Regions from separate parts of the Homo sapiens genome. Here region 2 is linked to region 1. Evidence: promoter capture Hi-C in 16 types of primary human blood cells and fetal thymus (Javierre and others, 2016). All regions are on one chromosome and are shown on one strand. Each heading gives the region's core, a stretch centred on a gene start or on the middle of the fragment in contact. The rest is flanking DNA. Distances are from core to core; before and after follow the strand shown.

Region 1 (5,054 bases), core at 1,223-3,722:
CCAGGCTCCTTGCTTTCAACTGTAGCAGGGAGACCCTTACGCTACCTGAATCTGTCAGCTTTTCCCACCCCGCCCGCCCCCTCTTGAATCTCCAGTTTCCCTGAGCTGTGACTAATACCAAAGCCACCACATCCACTCAGCCCCTTCACCCTTCCACACCACCTCCGGCAGCCACAGCCAACAGGATTCCTTACCTCTGAGCAGGGGCCCCTGACTCATTCATGAGGCCTCCCCCTCCCCTGCCTCCCCCTTACCCCGCTTAGCCTTTTCCCTCCCTCTTTCTCGAATTGTACCCCAATTCCACACCACCTGATCCCAACCCACTTCCATTTCCCTGGGTTTTGGAGTCATGGAATAGTCCTGGTAGCAGGGGAACTGGGTTCAAGTCCGGATCCCTCACCTGCTAGCTGTGTGACCTTTGGAAAGTTATTCAACCACTCTGGGCCTCAGTTTCCCCAACTCTAAAATGAAAGAGCCTCCCCGTCCACTTGCCAGGAGGTCAGTGGGGCTCTAATGACATCACGGATGAAAGCCTGCTCTGCAAACTGAGGAGGGGAATTGACAGCACCGATGCTGAAGCCGGCCTGCCTGGGTTTGAATCCTGCCTTTACCAGCTGTGTGACTTTGGTCTAATTACTTAACCTCTCTGAGCTTAGTGTCCTTATCTATAAAATGAGATAACATATATCTATATATCTAAAAAGATATTTATATATCTATGAAATGAGATAACCAGTCTCATAGGATTGCTGTGAGGATCAAAATGAGTGAATATGCATAAAACACTTCAAACAATGTTTATTATTACTGTCACTTTCCTCATGCCTGAGTGTATATTCAGTAAAAATGTAATAAAGAAACCTTTAAAATTCCCTCCCTCAGCCACCAGCTCCTCCTTGCTTCCCATTTGGCAACCTGTCTGTCCCCAGAGACAGCGGTCACTTGCCTCCAAACACCTTCTTCTCGTCTGTCTGTAACCTGGGTCCCCACCCCCAAATCCAGGGGACAGCTCTTCACCCCCAGTGCTGAAACTTCTGTTTCAAAGGCCAGAAAAGCAGAGACCTGTGTCAACCTAGCAGACAGGAAACCCAGATTGCAGTCTGCCCCCCACCCACTTGCTTGGTGACCTTGGACAAGTCCCTTCCCACGCCTGAATCTCAGTTTCCTCATCTGTCAAGTGGGGTAATAACCCCTGGGGTAACAACCCACCAGTTCCCTGTAAAGGCTCAGTGCATTGGGCAGCTCAGCCGGGGCCGGTACCCTTATTAACATAACACCACCAGCCCAGCACAGTGCGGACTGTCAGTGCTGCCTCCTCGGGCCCCAGGTCATTTCTCCAAATACCCCAGCGTCCTCCCTGCCCCTGAAACCATTCTCATCGAACCCCACTCCCCAGTTCCTCCAGGTAGCAGCCTCCACTGCAGTCCTTCCCCTGTCCCCCCAAAACCAGGGACTGCCTGGCCAGACTCTTGGAGCCGGGCCTCTTCAGGCCTGCAGACCTGGGGCCTGCATCAGCCCTTGACTGCCCGGGGTGCCCCAGTTCCCCCAAGCAGAGCACGGCCCGTGTTCCATGGCCCTCTCCTCTGCATCCCCATCTCCCACCTCTGGGTCACCCTGTCTCAGGCCCTGGCCCTCTGGCTCTCTCCGGAGGCCACCTCTTCCCTCCCTGTCTCGGAGAGATGCCCCCTCCCTATAGGGAGTGACACACGCGTGTGCACACACACACACACTTCATTCACTGCCAGGTGCTGGCATCTCAGTCCCAACCTGTGTCCTTCCCCGTAGCATCCCCTGAATCTGGGTCCTGCTAGACTCTCAGCCTGGCCCAGTCACCGCCCCCATGCTTCTCTTTGGCAAACCTGCCCAGGGGATGACAGTCTCCTCCGGTTTCTCCTGATATCCACTCTCTCCCATCCCCAGACCAGACCCCGGGGCCCTCCTGGGAATGCGGGGTGTTCGAGGCCCCTGAGACCTCTCCTGCCCCCTTGTGTCTTCATGGCCTCCAACCCCTTCCAGGCACTGTCCCCAAAATGCAGGTTCACTGGAGAGACATCAGGCGCCTGAAGATACTGGGGTGCTCCGGCTACCAACCTCCGATCTCATCCTTCGCCCCCACGTCCCAGCACCTCCCCCACTCCATCCCCACGCGCTCCCCCAATATTGGGGTCCCGCCCCCCCATTCTCCCCACCCCCAAGCTCACACTCCGCAGCTCTTGAGTCCGATCCTTCATCCTGCGACGGCTCCTCCTCCTCCTCCTAGTCCTCCTGCCTCTGCTGCTGCTCCGGGTCTCCCGCCTCTGTGCCGGAGGCCGGGGTCTGGGGGCGCCGGGGGGCGCCGCGGCCGCTGCGGGGGGCCTGCGGGCGGGGGCGGGGCCGGGGGCGACTGGCCGAGGGCCGGGCAGGGGCAGGGGCCTGGGCCGGGCTCGGCTCTGCCGGGCTGCGGTGGCGATGCGGCTGCGGCACAGGGTAGGATGGAGGGATGCGGGAGCCGAGCGCGGGGGAGGGGGGCGGAGGGAGGTGAGGAGGAAGCGAGGGCGGGGGGAGCGGGAGCGCGCAAGGAGCAGGGGGCATGCGCAGCACCCGGGCCGGGGGCGCCTGGGGGTTGTAGTCACGGGCTTGGGGGACACCCGAGGAGGGGGCGGGAGAGGCCTGGAGGCGGGTGGGGGTGGGCAGAGCCCGAGGAGCAGGGAGAGATGCGGAGAGCCAAGCGGAGATGCTAGGGTGGCCCGGGGGGTGGGGTGGCCCGGCGGAAAGAGGGGGTGACGGAATGAATTCAGGGAATAACCTGGGAGCCAGGATGTGGATCCCTTTCCAGGAGACACAGATCGCGGCTGTGTTTTGTGTCTGGTGTCTGCGTGAGGCTGCGCGCCGACCACCTCTGGGTGCGAGCCCATGTGTGTTCTTGCAGGAGGCTCTTTGGACACTATAAATAGAAAGACCGACCCTCTGTGTGGTTTTTACGATGCAGGGAACCAGCCAGGTGCTTGCTGAGAAGGACACGGGGCTTGTGTTGCACAGCCTGGGCCTCTCCCGCCGCGGTGGGTCTCGGAGCTCTGCTTGTCTGCCTCCAGGGACAGGGTGCTCACTACCTCCCAGGACCTCTTGGCCCATCTGCAGATGGCTCTGACTGTTGAACATGAAATTTGTCCTTAGTGGGAGGGGAAATCAGGTGCCCCTGAGGGTCTGAGTGACCTCCTGTTCTGATGCCCACCTCTCCTCTCCCCATCCTTACACCACACCAGCTCCTCCCACCCCCTGCAATGGGGCGCCGGTCCCCAATGGGACAGGTCTTGACTCTCAATCGATCCTCCTGCCTCAGCCTCCCAAAGTGCTGGGATTCCATGCCTGGGCCACCGCACCCGGCATTCTCTTGCCAGGTACCCAGTGACCTCCTTGGTGCCAAATCTGTGTCTGATAAACCCTCATCCCACACCGCCAGTCGGGCCTTACCATCCCTGACCTCTCAGCAGCATGTGACCCTGATGAGCCCCTCTTCCTGAAACCCTCCTGTCTGTGGTGCTCCGCCCACCTACCCCCCAACCTGATCTGTGAGTGTTGTCTCCCAGCCTCTTTCCAGGTCCTTACCTTTTTTCCCACAGCCCTTCAACCTCAGGGTTCCCTGGGCTCCGTCCATTCTCTCTTTTTTTTTTTTTTTGAGTTAGGGTCTCATTCTGTTGCCCAGGCTAGAGTACAGTGGTGCAATCTCGGCTCACTGCAGCCTCAACGTCCCAGGCTCAAGTGATCCTCCCACCTCAGCCTCCTGAGTAGCTGGGACTACAGGCACGCGCCACCACACCTGGCTAATTTTATTTTTTGTAGAGACAGGGTCTCACTATGTTGTCCAGGCTGGTTTTGAACTCCTAGGGTCAAGCGATCCTCCTGCCTCAGCCTCCCAAAGTGCTGAGATTACAGGCCTGGGCCACCATGCCTGGCATTCTCTTCCTTCTTTACCTGCATCTTTCTGCACCTCCGTGTCTGCAGTGCCCACATCTGTACCTGCGAGCCAGATCCTCCCCCTGTAAGACAGCCCCTACTATATGCCTAAGCTCTGAGCTGGGCACCAAGAAGACAGAGATTGAAGATGCCACCAGAGCCATGAGTAGATCCATGACTACAGTGGGCATGGCTAGCGCTGACGTGGGGACCTCAAGGAGGTGGCTGTCCCCAAAGTGTTCCTTCCTGTGTTCTCCCTCAGAGATGGCGTCATCTCCATCCACCCAGCCACTCAAAGCACAGAAAGCTGTCCTTGCCTCCCCGCCATTATAATGCCAGCACGTTCTGGGCATCCAACGTGTTGCATTCACTATGCTGGTAGCTCCCAGAAACCTCCCAACCTCACAGTAGCCACTGCTAAGATCCCAAGTGTATAGACAAGGACACTGAGGCTTTGCATGGTCACATAACATATCCAAGTTCACAAGGTTAATAAAGGGCAGGGCTGGGGTCTTGTTTGCTTTTTTTTTTTTTTTTCCAGAGACAGGGTCTCACTCTGTTCCCCAGGCTGGAGTGCAGTGGTGCAATCACACCTCACAGCAGCCTTGACCTCCTGGGCTCAAGCAATCCTCCCATCTCAGCCTCCTGAGTAGCTGGGACTACAGGTGTACACCACTGTGTCCAGCTAATTTTCTTTCTTTCTTTCTTTCTTTTTTTGAGAGAGAGTCTCGCTCTGTCACCCAGGCTGGAGTGCAATGGCGCGATCTTGGCTCACTGCAATCTCCGCCTCCTGGGTTCAAGTGATTCTCCTGCCTCAACCTCCCAAGTAGCTGTGATTACAGGTGCCTGCCACCATGCCTGGCTAATTTTTATATTTTTAGTAGAGACAGGGTTTCGCCATGTTGGCCAGGCTGGTCTGGAACTCCTGACCTCAAATGATCCACCCGCCTTGGCTTCCCAAAGTGCTGGGACTGCAGGTGTGAGCCACTGTGCCTGGCCCTAATTTAACTTTCTTTTTTTCTTTTTTTTGCAGAGACGAGATTGGTCCTAGCCTCCTGGGCTCTCACCTCGGCTTCCCAAGTGCTGGTATTATAGGCATAAGCCACTGTGTCTGACCTTGT
Region 2 (4,806 bases), core at 939-3,438, 240 kb after region 1:
TTAAGGGTCGGGGAGATTACAAAGTACCTTCTTAAGGGTGGGGGAGATTACAAAGTACATTGATCAGTTAGGGTGGGACAGAAACAAATCACAATGGTGGAATGTCATCAGTTAAGGCTATTTTCACTTCTTTTGTGGATCTTCAGTTGCTTCAAGCCATCTGGATGTATACATGCAGGTCACAGGGGATATGATGGCTTAGCTTGGGCTCAGAGGCCTGACAGGATCACAGGAACTTTTCTTGACAATCCAGTGCAATGGAAAAACAGTATTTTATTCTTGTTCTTCCCACAACTTTCTCAGGAGGGCGGATCCTGTAGCAAGTTTCTTCGAGTGTGGTGAGCGAAGCAAATTGGAGGAGCTCAGACGGAGATAATTTGTCTGTGTAGACAAGGAAGGAAATTTGGAGAGGTGGGACTGGGAGATTTTGTTGGGAAGAGAGAAGCCGTGACCCTGGGTGCTGTGCAGGAAAAGGGACGATGAAGACCTGATACCTTCATTCCCCTGAGAGCAAAACTGGAAAATGTTGAGGAATGTGGCAAAGAAGGTTTGCGAAGTTGAGTATAGAGAGTCATGTGATGCAAAACCCACTTGTTTGAAGGAGGTGGGCCAGTGAGCCTGCCGATCCCTGGGGGAAGATTGGTTCCATCAGAGGGAACAGCCAGTGCCATGGCCTTCAGGTGGTGGTGTGCCTGGCAGGTTTGAGGAATGGCAAGGAGGCCAGGGTGGCTGCTGTCCCAGAAAATGAGGTAAGCTCAGAGAGGTAAGGGCTGGGGTTGGGATGACAGGTCATGCAGGTCCTTGTAGGTTGTAGAAAGGACTGGCTTTTACTATCAGTAACGTGGGAGCCTTTGCAAGGTTTTGAGCAGAGGAGTGGCATGATATGTCTTGTGTTTTGAAACAATCCCTCTGACTGCTGTACTGAAAATTGACTTCGGCTGGGCACGGTGGCTCACGCATGTAATGCCAGCACTTTGGGAGGCTGAGGTGGGAGGATGGCTTGAGGCTAGGAGTTTGAGACCAGCCTAGGCAACTTAGTGAGACCCCGTCTCTACAAAAAGATTGAAAAATTACCTGGACATGGGGGCGCATGCCTGTAGTACCAGCTATTTAGGAGGCTGAGGTGGGAGGATCATTTGAACCCAGGAGTTGGAAAAAAGAAAAAAGGCAGTCAAAGGACTGAGCTCTGAGATCCTTCTGAAGAGGTTGGGAGAAGAGGAGAATCAGCAAGAGAAACTGAGAAGGAGGGTCATGGGCGGTAGGCGGGAAGCAGGAGAGTGTGGGGTCAGAGGACAGATGTAGAAATCAGTTCCAGGAAGCGAGGGCCGAGTGTCAGAAGCTGCTGCTGAGTCACTCAAGATGAAGACAGAACTCATCACTGGAGTCACTCAGGCAGCCTTGGTGACCTTGATAAAAATAGTTTAGGTGGAGTAGGTGCCGGGTTGGAGCACAGGCTTGGTTGGAATGGGGTTAAGGGAGGATGTGAGCAGTAGAACAGGGTGCAGCCAACACAGACAACTACTTTGGAGAAGTTTTGCAAAAGGGAAGTAAAAAATGGGCAGTGGTTGATGAGGGGAGTGGAATCAAAGAAAGTCTTGTTTGCTTTTTCAGTAGGAGAAATGTATTGTTTCTGATGGGAACACCAGATTTCTACATACGTATTTTGTATTCTTTCCGAGGGTCTTATATACTTATTCCAGAGCCAACACTGTACTTTTACCTACTGTGGCTTTAGAATATTGCTTTGATAGGGTACTTGTTATGGAATAACATGACATTGTAAGGTATGTCCCATTGCTTTATAGGCTATTGCTGTGTGTTTTCTAGTCCAGTCAATTTTTGAATCAGCACGTCAAATTCTAGAAAAATTCTGCTGGGTGAGATTATAATGAATTTGAGTAATTAAATGGAGAACCGACATCTGTACTGACATCTGTAGTCTTGTAGTCTTGTCATCCATGAAGATGACATATCTCTCTATTCTTTTTTTTTTTTTTTTTTTTTTTTTTTTTGAGATGGAGTGTTGCTCTGTTGCCCAGGCTGGAGTGTGGTGGCACAATCTCAGTTCACTGAAACCTCTGCCTCCCGGGTACAAGCAATTCTCATGCCTCAGCCTCCCGAGCAGCTGGGATTACAGGCATGCACCATGATGCCCAGCTAATTTTTGTATTTTTTGTAGAGATGGGATTTCACCATGTTGGCCAGGCTGGTCTCAAACTCCTGGCCTCAAGTGATCCACCCACTTCAGCCTCCCAAAGTGCTAGGATTACAGGCGTGAGCCACTGCACCAGGTCAATAATCTTTTTTTTTTTTTTTTTTTTTTTTTTTTTTGAGGATGAAGTCTTGCTCTGTTGCCCAGGCTGGAGTGCAGTGGCATGATCTCGGCTCACTGCAACCTCCACCTCCCGGGTTCCTAGCATTCTCCTGTCTCAGCCACCCGAGTAGCTGGGACTACAGGCGCATGCCACCATGTCTGGCTAATTTTTGTATTTTTAGCAGAGACGGGTTTTGCCATGTTGGCCAGGCTGGTCTCGAACTCCTGATCTCAGGTGATCCACCCACATCAGCCTCCCAAAGTGCTGGGATTACAAACGTGAGCCATCATGCCCGGCCAGTAATTTGTTTAATTACATATCTTTTATAAGCTCTTTCTTTCTTCCTTCTTTTTTTTTTTGAGACAAGGTCTCACTCTGTTGCCCAGGCTGGAGTGCAGTAGTGTGATCATGGCTCACTGCAGCCTCCAACACTTGGGCTCAAAATGTCCAAGGGACATTTTGCGAAGTGCGTTTTCAGGGAGATAGTTTGATTTCCCACACCTGTTTGATACATATTAATGTTTAATTAATTAATTATTTATTTAATTAAAAAAATTTAAGAGACGGGGTCTTATTATGTTGCCCAGGCTAGAGTACAGTGTATGGTGGCATGATCATAGCTCACTGCAACCTCGACCCCTTGGGTGCAAGTGATCCTCCTGCCTCAGCTTCCTGAGTAGCTGGGACTACATGTGCATACCACCACACTAGATAATTAAAAAAAAATTTTTTTTAAGAGACAGAATCTTCCTATGTTGCCCAGGTTGGTCTTGAACTCCTGGGCTCAAGCGATCCTCCCACTCTGGACTCCCAAAGTGCTGGTATTACAGGCAGTGAGCCATTGTGCCTGGCATTAGCTCCTTCTTTTCCTCACTTTCCCACCAGTGTTTCCGGAATCACCTTCCAGATAAATTACTTACACTTGAAGCCTTGTCTCAGAGTCCACTTATAGGGGAAATCAAGCTAAGATTTTATCAAGAGTGGGGATGGGGGACAGGTAGGAGGGAACAGCCAACAGCTTATAGATATGTCCCCACCCACGGTCACCAGGTCAGGTGCACACTTGGTGGTGGCTCATTGAGAAAGCCTCTGCAGGTTGGACAGCCAGTCTGAGATCTTGCCTATGTTTTTACAGAGAGTGGACCCTTGGCCACTGTTCAGGGCAAGGAGGGGCCTCCACGTCTGAGTTCGAGCAGCCCCCATAGTGGCCAGAGTGTGAAAACTTTTCCCAAAGCAAACCCAGCTGATCTACTAAACTCCTCCCCGGGCACCCTGGTTGGTATCTTCTCATCTTGGGCTCATGACTTCGTTCGTCCTTTCCTCAGCTTCTTTACCTGCTAACAAATACAGGTAACCTGTTGTTTTAAATTATCTATTGGTATTTTTTATGATTATGAGTCTTTTTTTTGTATAAAGGTCTTTTTTTTTTTTCTCTTTGAGACATGGTCTTGCTCTGTTGCCCAGGCTGGAGTGCAGTGTTGAGGTCATAGCTCACTGTAGCCTCAAACTCCTGGGCTCAAGTGATCCTCTTGCCTTGGCCTCCCACAGCATTGGGATCACAGGCATGAGCCACTGCACCCAGCCTATATAAATATTTTAAGTACAAATGATATAGAAAAGAATATTAAAGTCATCTTGTAGCAGATTGAATACAACCACAAATTCCTCCCATTGGGAGGTGGGATCTGTGTCCCCTTTGCTTGAATGTGGATGAGCTCTGTGACTGCCTGATCAATGGAATGTGGTGCAGATGACTTGGCGCCAGTTTCCAGATCAAGACCTTAGTAGCCTGGAAATTTCTGCTTCCTGTCTGTTGGAACACTTGCTCTTGAAGTCCAGCCACCATGCTGCGAGAAGCCCAAGCCACATGGAGAGGGCACGTGGGGGTGCCCAGGTGACAGCCCCAACTGAGCTCCTAGCCCACGGCCAACTGCCAGCTGTGGGAGTGACCCATTTTGGGAGCCCAGCCCAACTGAGCTTTGGATTACTCTAGCCCTGGTTGTGATCCGACTGCAATCATGTGAGAGACCCCGCTGAGAACTGCTGAGGCCAGGAGATTCACAGATACGCGAGAGATTATAATATGCTGCTGTTTTTAACTATGAAGTTTTGGAGTAGCTCGCTCTGCAGCAATAGATACTGGAACATACCTGTAATCCTCCTATCTTGGAGATAACGACTATTAACATTTGGTTTTCCTGCATATATATATATATATATATATATATATATATATATATATATATATGATTTATTTTTGTATGTATGTACTTATTTATTTAATTTTAATTTTTTATTTTTTGAAACTGAGTCAAGCTCTATTGCCCAGGCTGGAGTGCAATGGTGCAATCTCAGCTCACTGCAACCTCCACCTCCCAGGTTCAAGTGATTCTCCTGCCTCAGCCTCCCAAGTAACTAGGATTACAGGTGCCTGCCACCACGCCTGGCTAATTGTTGTATTTTTAGTAGAGATGGGGTTTCACCATGTTGG

What was found. Contacts are between HindIII fragments. The CHiCAGO score rates a contact against its expected background, and 5 or more counts as called.
Region 2: a fragment that was not itself captured here is called in contact with the fragment with the promoter of STX1B in region 1 in 1 of 17 cell types (neutrophils); the score reaches 6.8 in neutrophils.

The regions. Positions count from the first base shown.
Region 1 is chr16:31,008,166-31,013,219 of GRCh38, forward strand. STX1B (syntaxin 1B) reads right to left here and starts at 2,473. Exons shown (of 10, transcript NM_052874.5): 1 at 2,202-2,473. The coding sequence starts at 2,231. RefSeq lists an enhancer at 2,509-3,010. The HindIII fragment of the contact is 27,284 bases long and covers 1-5,054 here.
Region 2 is chr16:31,252,469-31,257,274 of GRCh38, forward strand. No RefSeq gene overlaps it. Among named protein-coding and RNA genes, the nearest start is that of ITGAM, 5.1 kb to the right of the region's middle. The HindIII fragment of the contact is 7,238 bases long and covers 1-4,806 here.